3 separate regions of the Homo sapiens genome follow, and regions 2 and 3 are each linked to region 1. Evidence: promoter capture Hi-C in 16 types of primary human blood cells and fetal thymus (Javierre and others, 2016). All regions are on one chromosome and are shown on one strand. Each heading gives the region's core, a stretch centred on a gene start or on the middle of the fragment in contact. The rest is flanking DNA. Distances are from core to core; before and after follow the strand shown. Region 1 holds the start of DIAPH1-AS1 (DIAPH1 antisense RNA 1). Region 2 has its middle 4.8 kb from the start of PCDHB15. Region 3 holds the start of PCDHB6 (protocadherin beta 6).

Region 1 (2,700 bases), core at 119-2,618:
CCTCGGCCTCCCAAAGTGCTGGGATTACAGGCGTGAGTCACCGCGCCTGGCAGAGATCTTTTTAAAAGAAATTAAGTCTATAAATAAATTGCAAAATAAAAAATAAAAAAGAGCATAAGAGAGAACCTATAGAGACATCAACCAACTGCAATGTGTAGACTTTATTTGGCTCTGATTCAAATGAACTATTAAAAAAAACAACTATCATAAGATAATTTGGGAAATTTAATACTAACTGGCTATCTGATGATAAAGAATTTTTTAAATGTGATAATGGTAGTAATTATCTTCTTTTAAAAGTCCTAATTTTTTTGACACACATTCTGAACTGCTTAAGGATTAAATAATATGAACAAGGATACATGTAAAAATAATGGGTGGCAAAGACAAAGTTGATACAGGTATATGAAACAAGACTAGCTGTTGATTAAGTTTTTTAAATGGGTGATGGACATAGGGGTGTTCATACTAGTCTCTTTACATATATGTGTGTATGTGTGCGTGCATTTTTTTCACGGTTTCAAAAATAACATTTTTTAAAAAAATTCAGGACCATTTCCCTAGAGTCCTTGGGGCATTTGATTCTTCCCAGACAGCTAAGTGAAAGGGGTTCCTTTTTTTCTTCTTTTTTTGGGGGTATCTTTTCTTATCTGATCCTATAATTAAGAAAACTGCCCTAAACATCTCTGTAGCAAAAACACCTAAACCCAGGATTAGAGTCTAGATGAGGCAGAGGGGATGCCCTGGCCTGCTGCCTCAAAAGCTAGCACTCTGTCACTGTTAGTAGGTGTCCGGCAGCCAAACCATTTTGCTCTGTGCTCCGCTGGCAAGGACTTGCGGCATCGATTGCTCAGGATGCAGGCAGCCTGCAGCAAGGTGTGTCCCTGATGAGCAACTGCTGAGTAAAAGAGTACGTAGCTGCGCCTCAGCCAGTCTCCCTCCCTCTGCAAACCAGACTCCTCCTTTGCCTAACTCCTTTTTTTATTCCTGCGTCACAAATACAAAATGGAGTTAGCTGGGAGCAAAAACAATCTGTCTAAAATGGCTGAATGCGGTGGGGAGTGCCAGACAGTAAAGCGAAGGGAAAGGGCACCCCCTGGCGGCCAAGATAGGGAGTCTGTTTTATGTTCTTCACTACTTTTGCATTTCAAACGAATCAGTCCTACAGAGTCCAAGTTAATTTTGTCACAAATCTTGATGTTGAGCTCTAAAATTCAACTAATAGAAACTGAGGCACAAGAAGGGAAAATAATTTTCAGTCTCTAAAGACAAAGGGCACAAGTCAACAGCCCTGAGTTGCAGTTACTGCTTGGTTATGATCAGTAATAGTTTCTAGGAGACAACAGAACGGAAGGGAGGTCCTTTTATAGTACATGATTCCCCAGCTTCAATAATGGACTAATGACCCCCGGAATCCCACCGCTATAGCCTGCACTTCCCCAGGAATTCCTGTTTAAGGCGTCTCTCAATGAAGACCACAAACAGGAAATGGAGGAGTGGGGAGTTGCCTGACATCCTGGAAACTACGTTCTTAAAGAACTGCAGGTGGGAGTAAGTGGGATAGAAAAATGGGCTTTTCAAAAACTGTTGAGAACACGGACTGAGTCAGTTGTATCCGCACGGCTGGAAGACAGGCAGCTCCACCTAACCTCACTCACTTACTCAGGACCAAAACCCTACTTGCTCTGCCCAAGATAAAGCCTGCAGCATTTGTACCTATTCTACAGGGAACACCCTCCATTATCTTTATCTTACGCTACACCTCCCTTGAGTAAGCCAAGTACCTATGACTAAAAAAGAACATGTAAGAAAGGTGGAAAAAACAGAAATTATCTGGAAAAACTTGTGGGTACAAGTCATTAATGGTTGCCACTACTTAAATGAGGCTGCACAAATACGCCAGTTTATCCAACGTCCCTAAAGTGAGATAATGGCAACACATACAACACAGGTGCACAAAAATCACAAGTTGTTAAAAAAAAAAAAAAAAAGACTCTGGCATCACTATAGTTTTCTCTGAAGAAATAGGGTCTTTGTGGAAGAATCTTAGATCTCTCAGGCATATATGAAAGATCAGAACACTTAATAATCTCTCCAGGAAATAACTTTCTGTGAGGGTAACATAGCTATGGAATTGCCAAGTTCACCTAGCATACAATAAGCCATGTCTATTAAGCACTACATCAACTCTCTAATTCTGGGAAGAGGAGACAGTAAGAGGGTCTTAATGTTAATATAAGTGTTAATATAAGAAGCTGCCCAAATGGAGGACTTCTGATTTATATTCTTCATGGTTGTAATATACATAAGGGATAAATTCAGCACTTTAAAACAATCACTAAGGTATACATTATAGAAGGAAAAAATATCATGCCAACCGAATAGCAGTTATCCCTGCCCAAAGGTAACCGTATCACTGATACCTTGGCCAAAATATACAACTATCTGCAAAATCCCACAGAACTAGACCATTACAGATGTGCAAGCTGTAAGGAGGGACAGGGCAAACTGGCATTAATGAACAAACCTAAAGGACAAGAACAAAGCCACACAGAATCCCAAAGGAAGAACCAGATGCTGAGAGTTATAAAGAAGGGGACAGATATAAGTCTGGAAGGGTAGCAGAAAAGCAGTATTAAAAATCTGGGCACTTCACCAAGCATTTGGTCTTTCAGATAATATAGTCATTGAGTTTCCCAC
Region 2 (2,725 bases), core at 225-2,724, 320 kb before region 1:
AGACCCCCAAGTCTCCTCCCCCAAAATGTTTTCTCTTTCCTCAGAAGTAAAAATTTCAGTTCCATGCTAGGGTTTCAGTATTCCAATGAATCCACAAGAGATACATAATTGCTTACTAAAAATGAGTTGAGATCTTCTCCAGTTGGGAATATGCTTAACCTGCTATTTCAGGTGAACTTAACATATTTTCTTCTGCATTTTACTTTTTACTTTAACTTCAGCCTTTATATCCATGATCTTGGCTGGCTCCCTCTTCAAGGTCTCAGTGACTCTCAGCTTCAACATGTGTGTATCTCAGTATTAACAATAGATGGTGATGCTCTTTATAAATTATTTTAGATACTGTAACAAGTCAACATAACAAGCTCACAGTCCTTAGGCAATATTCACAAATAAGTTATCCACAACTCTTAGGCTACCTATTGAGTTTGCATAATAAACCAGATTTAGCTAGTATATCACTTAAGTTTACACTCCTGAAATGTTAGAATGAATCTCTTCAACTACTGTGCTAGCACTCATTCGATCCATCAAAGAGAAGAGGCTTTCTTAACCGAAAATTGCGTTGCTGCAAGGATTGATTCCCAGAGCAGATTGCCTACCAACGCAACATAGGCATCCGGACCCTGAATGCTGTTGGTGTTGGAGAAATGGAGGCTGAAAAGGAGCACTTTCCTAGAATAAGGCAAGTGCTGCTTCTCTTTGTTATGCTGTCTCAGACTTGTGCGGAGTGGAATATACTGTGCGGAGTGGAATATACTGTAGCAGAAGAAACAGAAAGTGGTTCTTTTGTGGCCAATCTAACAAAGGACCCAGGGCTAGAAGTAAGAGTAATATACCAGTGGAGGCCTCGGGTCATTTTTAACAATAACAAAAAATATTTTCAGCTGAAACTTCAGACCGGAGACCTGCAAGTAAATGAGACATTGGACCGGGAAGAATTGTGTAGAATCACTGAGCCTTGTGTGCTGCAATTCCAAGTGTTACTGGAAGAACCTTTGGAGGTTTAAACTTTTGGTCAGTGACATAAACACAATTCCCCTGTATTCCCAGAAGCAGAAATTATTTTGAAATCATGGAAAATACTCCTCCAGGAACTGTGTTTCCTCTGAAAAATACACAAGATTTGGATGTGGCCATCAATAACATCCAAAACTACACCATCTACCCCTACTCCCATGTCCACGCTCTCACCCAAAATGGCAGTGAAGGCAGAAAATACCCAGAGCTGGTTCTGGACAAAGCCCTGGATCGGGAGGAGCAGGCTGAGATCAGGTTAACTCTCATGGCAGTAGATGGCGGGACTCCTCCCAGAACTGGGACTGCTCTGGTCCTCATTGAAATCTTGGACATCAATGACAATGCACCTGAGTTTGTGTAGCCACTCTATCAGGTGCAGATATCAGAAAACAGCCCCCTGGATTCCCTTGTTGCCACTGTTTCCGCTAGAGATTCAGACATGGGAATTAATGGTGAGATATTCTACTCATTTTTTATGGTGATGAAGAGATTTCTAAGACATTTGCACTTAATGAACGAAGGGGAGAAATTAAAATAATCAGAAAACTAGATTTTGAAAAAATTGTGTCATATCAGGTGGATATTAAAGCCTCTGATGGGGCAGGTCTTTCTGGAAAATGCACTGTCATAATACAGGTGGTAGATATCAACGATAACGCTCCGGAACTGACCATGGCTTCATTCACAAGCCCCATCCGCGAAAATTCTCCTGAGACCGTTGCAGCTCTTTTCAGCATTCAAGACCGCGATTCTGGGAAAAATGGAAGAATAGTTTGATCAATTCAAAATGATGTTCCGTTCATGCCGAAACCTTCCGTTGAGAATTTATACTGGCTGTTAACAGAAGGACCACTGGACAAAGAGATTAGAGCCGAGTACAACATCACCAACACAGCCACGGACTTGGGGACTCCTAGGCTGAAAACCGAGTACAACATAACGGTGCTGGTCTCCTACGTCAATGACAAAGCCCCCACCTTCACCTAAACCTCCTACACCCTGTTCGTCCGCGAGAACAACAGCCCCGCCCTGCATATTGGCAGCGTCAGCACCGCAGAGACTCGGGCACCAACATCCAGGTCACCTACTCGCTGCTGCCGCCCCGGAACCCGCACCTGCCCCTCGCCTCCCTGGTCTCCATCAACACAGACAACGGCCACCTGTTCGCCCTCAGGTCGCTGGACTACGAGGCCCTGCAGGAGTTCGAGTTCCGCGTGGGCGCTTCAGACCGCGGCTCCACGGCGCTGAGCAGCGAGGCGCTGGTGCGCGTGCTGGTGCTGGACGCCAACGACAGCTCACTCTTCGTGCTGTTCCCGCTGCAGAACGGCTCCGCGCCCTGCACCGAGCTGATGCCCCGGGCGGGCCGCCGAGCCGGGCTACCTGGTGACCAAGGTGGTGGCGGTGGACGGTGACTCGGGCCAGAACGCCTGGCTGTCGTAGCAGTTGCTCAAGGCCACGGAGCCAGGGCTGTTCGGCGTGTGGGCGCACAATGCACTGACAGGCTGCTGAGCGAGCGTGACACAGCCAAGCACAGGCTGATGGTCCTGGTCAAGGACAATGGCGAGCCTCCGCGCTCGGCCACCGCCACGCTGCACGTGCTCCTGGTGGATGGCTTCTCCCTGCCCTACTTGCCGTTCCCTGAAGCGGCCCCGGCCCAGGCCCAGGCCGACTTGCTCACCGTCTACCTGGTGGTGGCGTTGGCCTT
Region 3 (2,700 bases), core at 135-2,634, 410 kb before region 1:
CAAGGAACAGTGTGTTCCCAGTAGCATCTATCAAGTGAACCCTGGAGGCTGGTCACATTCATAATCTTTTGTTTTTCTGGCTACATAGAGGTGATTTTGAACTACAAGATCATCTCAGCTATTCAGAGTTTAGATTTTATTTAGCCTTATTTGTTTTGCCTAGCATTTATGTATTTGAAAATATCTTGATTTTTAATCTTCTATCACCTTGGCCCTTACCTGAAGTGAACTTTGTTTGAACTCAATTGATTTCACCTCTCAATAAATATGAAATTAATCTGAAATGAATTGAATTGTTTGGCATATTTTACCTCTTCTATGTGCACTAATCTATTTCACACATTTTCAGTTTGTTTAGAGATACATGTTCCAATGTATCTGAGTAGAAACTAGTGAGATGGGAATGGATATAGCCATAATATTCCATCATTGAATTCCATGGCATTCACTCAAATGTAACTCACCTGTTTTAACAGTACCTTAATTTGGCCTGTATTTATTGGACTTGGTGTTCTTTTTGCTGTGAGAAGACGGTGAAGGTGATTCTTGAATGTTTGTTTTCTGTGTTGCATCATGTTTGTACAACACGGTAATATATTTGGACCTTGATTAAATAATGTAAGAGGGGAATTTGATCAAAAAATAAAATGCACAAGACTGTTAAAACAATGTCTAATTCTATCCATGCAAAAATGGAGTAGAATCCTAAAATGCTTATGACAACTACTTGATTGCTTCTAGTCCCTCTTTTAAATACTTTAATTTACTTAGATACATGTATCATACGTACTTCTTGGCCTCAGTTTTCCTCCTAATAGCCTAATTGTTCTTTTTACTGTGCAGGCATAACTATATAACAAAGTAGGTTTTTTTTTTCATGCCATTTATGAGTCATATAATTTAGATAATTTATTGTTTATTTTACCATTATTGTTGCTAACAAACTTCGTTGTTTTGCATTGTTTGTTGGGACAATTAAATAGTGTACCTCTTGGACTAATAGATTAAATAGTTCATCAGAGATAAATTGCACTGCTGAAGCATCAAAGGAGAAAGACTGAAGTGTAGAATCTGCACTTCAATCTTTCTCCTTAATTAGCACCACCAGGGAATTTGATTCAAGTTCTAGAGGGGAGTGAACCCAGGAATTGGCTTAAAAACAAAAACATACACACAAAAAAACCAACGCTCGCAAGCAATTATTTATGCATGCGGTCCACGCACTCAGTTTGAGAAACACTGACTCGACTTAAAAGTCTTTATAATGCTCAGATTTCTGAAATGCTATTGACCTGAAAACATCTCATGAAGTTATTAGTTTGAACGCGTGGTGGCGGTACAAGCTAAGAGAGTGAATGAAAGCTCTGCAGACTCGGTGGACTCCGTTTCATCCAGAAGCCAAGTAAAAATACAGACCACGTTTACAGCTAAAGCTGAGATAGATGTGTCCGGGAAGGCAGTCGTCGCCAGACAAGTTGTAAGAACGAATTTAAAAATCTCTGCAAAGACATCCGAGAGGGTCGACGGTAGATGTGGTGATTGGGAGCTGAAAAGGATTTTTCTTCCGTATTCAGACATAATAGACATGATGCAAACTAAAGTACAGAACAAGAAAAGGCAAGTGGCTTTCTTCATTTTATTGATGCTTTGGGGAGAGGTGGGTTCTGAATCGATTCAGTATTCCGTATTGGAGGAGACAGAAAGTGGCACGTTTGTGGCCAACTTGACAAAGGACCTGGGACTGAGGGTGGGGGAGCTGGCTTCGCGGGGCGCTCGGGTTGTTTTCAAAGGGAACAGACAACATTTGCAGTTTGATCCACAGACCCATGATTTACTGCTAAATGAAAAACTGGACCGGGAGGAGCTGTGTGGCTCCACTGAGCCGTGTGTGCTACCTTTCCAAGTGTTACTGGAAAACCCCTTGCAGTTTTTTCAGGCTTCCTTGCGAGTCAGAGATATAAATGACCACGCCCCGGAATTCCCTGCCAGAGAAATGCTCCTGAAAATATCAGAAATTACTATGCCAGGAAAGATATTTCCTTTGAAAATGGCACACGATTTAGACACCGGCAGCAACGGCCTTCAGAGGTACACAATCAGCTCCAACCCTCACTTCCACGTTCTCACCCGCAATCGCAGCGAAGGCAGGAAGTTCCCGGAGCTGGTGCTAGACAAACCGTTGGACCGCGAGGAGCAGCCCCAACTCAGGCTAACGCTGATCGCGCTGGATGGCGGGTCTCCGCCCCGGTCAGGGACCTCCGAGATTCAGATCCAGGTTTTGGACATCAATGACAACGTCCCCGAGTTTGCTCAGGAGCTCTATGAAGCACAAGTCCCTGAGAACAACCCCCTCGGCTCTCTGGTTATTACCGTCTCAGCCAGAGATTTAGATGCAGGATCGTTTGGGAAGGTATCTTACGCCCTGTTTCAAGTCGATGACGTCAACCAACCCTTCGAAATAAACGCAATCACAGGAGAAATTCGGCTGAGAAAGGCTTTGGATTTTGAGGAAATTCAGTCTTATGACGTGGATGTTGAGGCTACAGATGGTGGAGGCCTATCAGGAAAATGCTCTTTAGTCGTCAGGGTCCTGGACGTGAATGACAATGCCCCTGAACTCACCATGTCGTTCTTCATCAGCCTCATCCCAGAAAACTTACCAGAGATCACAGTGGCAGTTTTCAGTGTTTCAGATGCAGA

What was found. Contacts are between HindIII fragments. The CHiCAGO score rates a contact against its expected background, and 5 or more counts as called.
Region 2: a contact is called between a fragment that was not itself captured here and the fragment with the promoter of DIAPH1-AS1 in region 1, in 3 of 17 cell types (endothelial precursors, fetal thymus and naive B cells). The highest score is 13.7, in endothelial precursors.
Region 3: the fragment with the promoter of PCDHB6 here is called in contact with the fragment with the promoter of DIAPH1-AS1 in region 1 in 2 of 17 cell types (naive CD8 T cells and naive CD4 T cells); the score reaches 7.6 in naive CD8 T cells.

Annotation. Positions count from the first base shown.
Region 1 is chr5:141,556,943-141,559,642 of GRCh38, forward strand. It overlaps DIAPH1-AS1 (DIAPH1 antisense RNA 1), which reads left to right and starts at 1,369. Exons shown (of 3, transcript NR_038333.1): 1 at 1,369-1,545. The region is part of intron 18 of DIAPH1 (diaphanous related formin 1); the gene reads right to left. RefSeq lists enhancers at 347-1,199, 960-1,254. The HindIII fragment of the contact is 6,603 bases long and covers 1-2,700 here.
Region 2 is chr5:141,239,273-141,241,997 of GRCh38, forward strand. It overlaps PCDHB@ and the pseudogene PCDHB19P. Among named protein-coding and RNA genes, the nearest start is that of PCDHB15, 4.8 kb to the right of the region's middle. The HindIII fragment of the contact is 3,709 bases long and covers 1-2,725 here.
Region 3 is chr5:141,148,673-141,151,372 of GRCh38, forward strand. PCDHB6 (protocadherin beta 6) reads left to right here and starts at 1,385. Exons shown (of 1, transcript NM_018939.4): 1 at 1,385-2,700. The coding sequence starts at 1,586. It also overlaps PCDHB@. The HindIII fragment of the contact is 6,099 bases long and covers 1-2,700 here.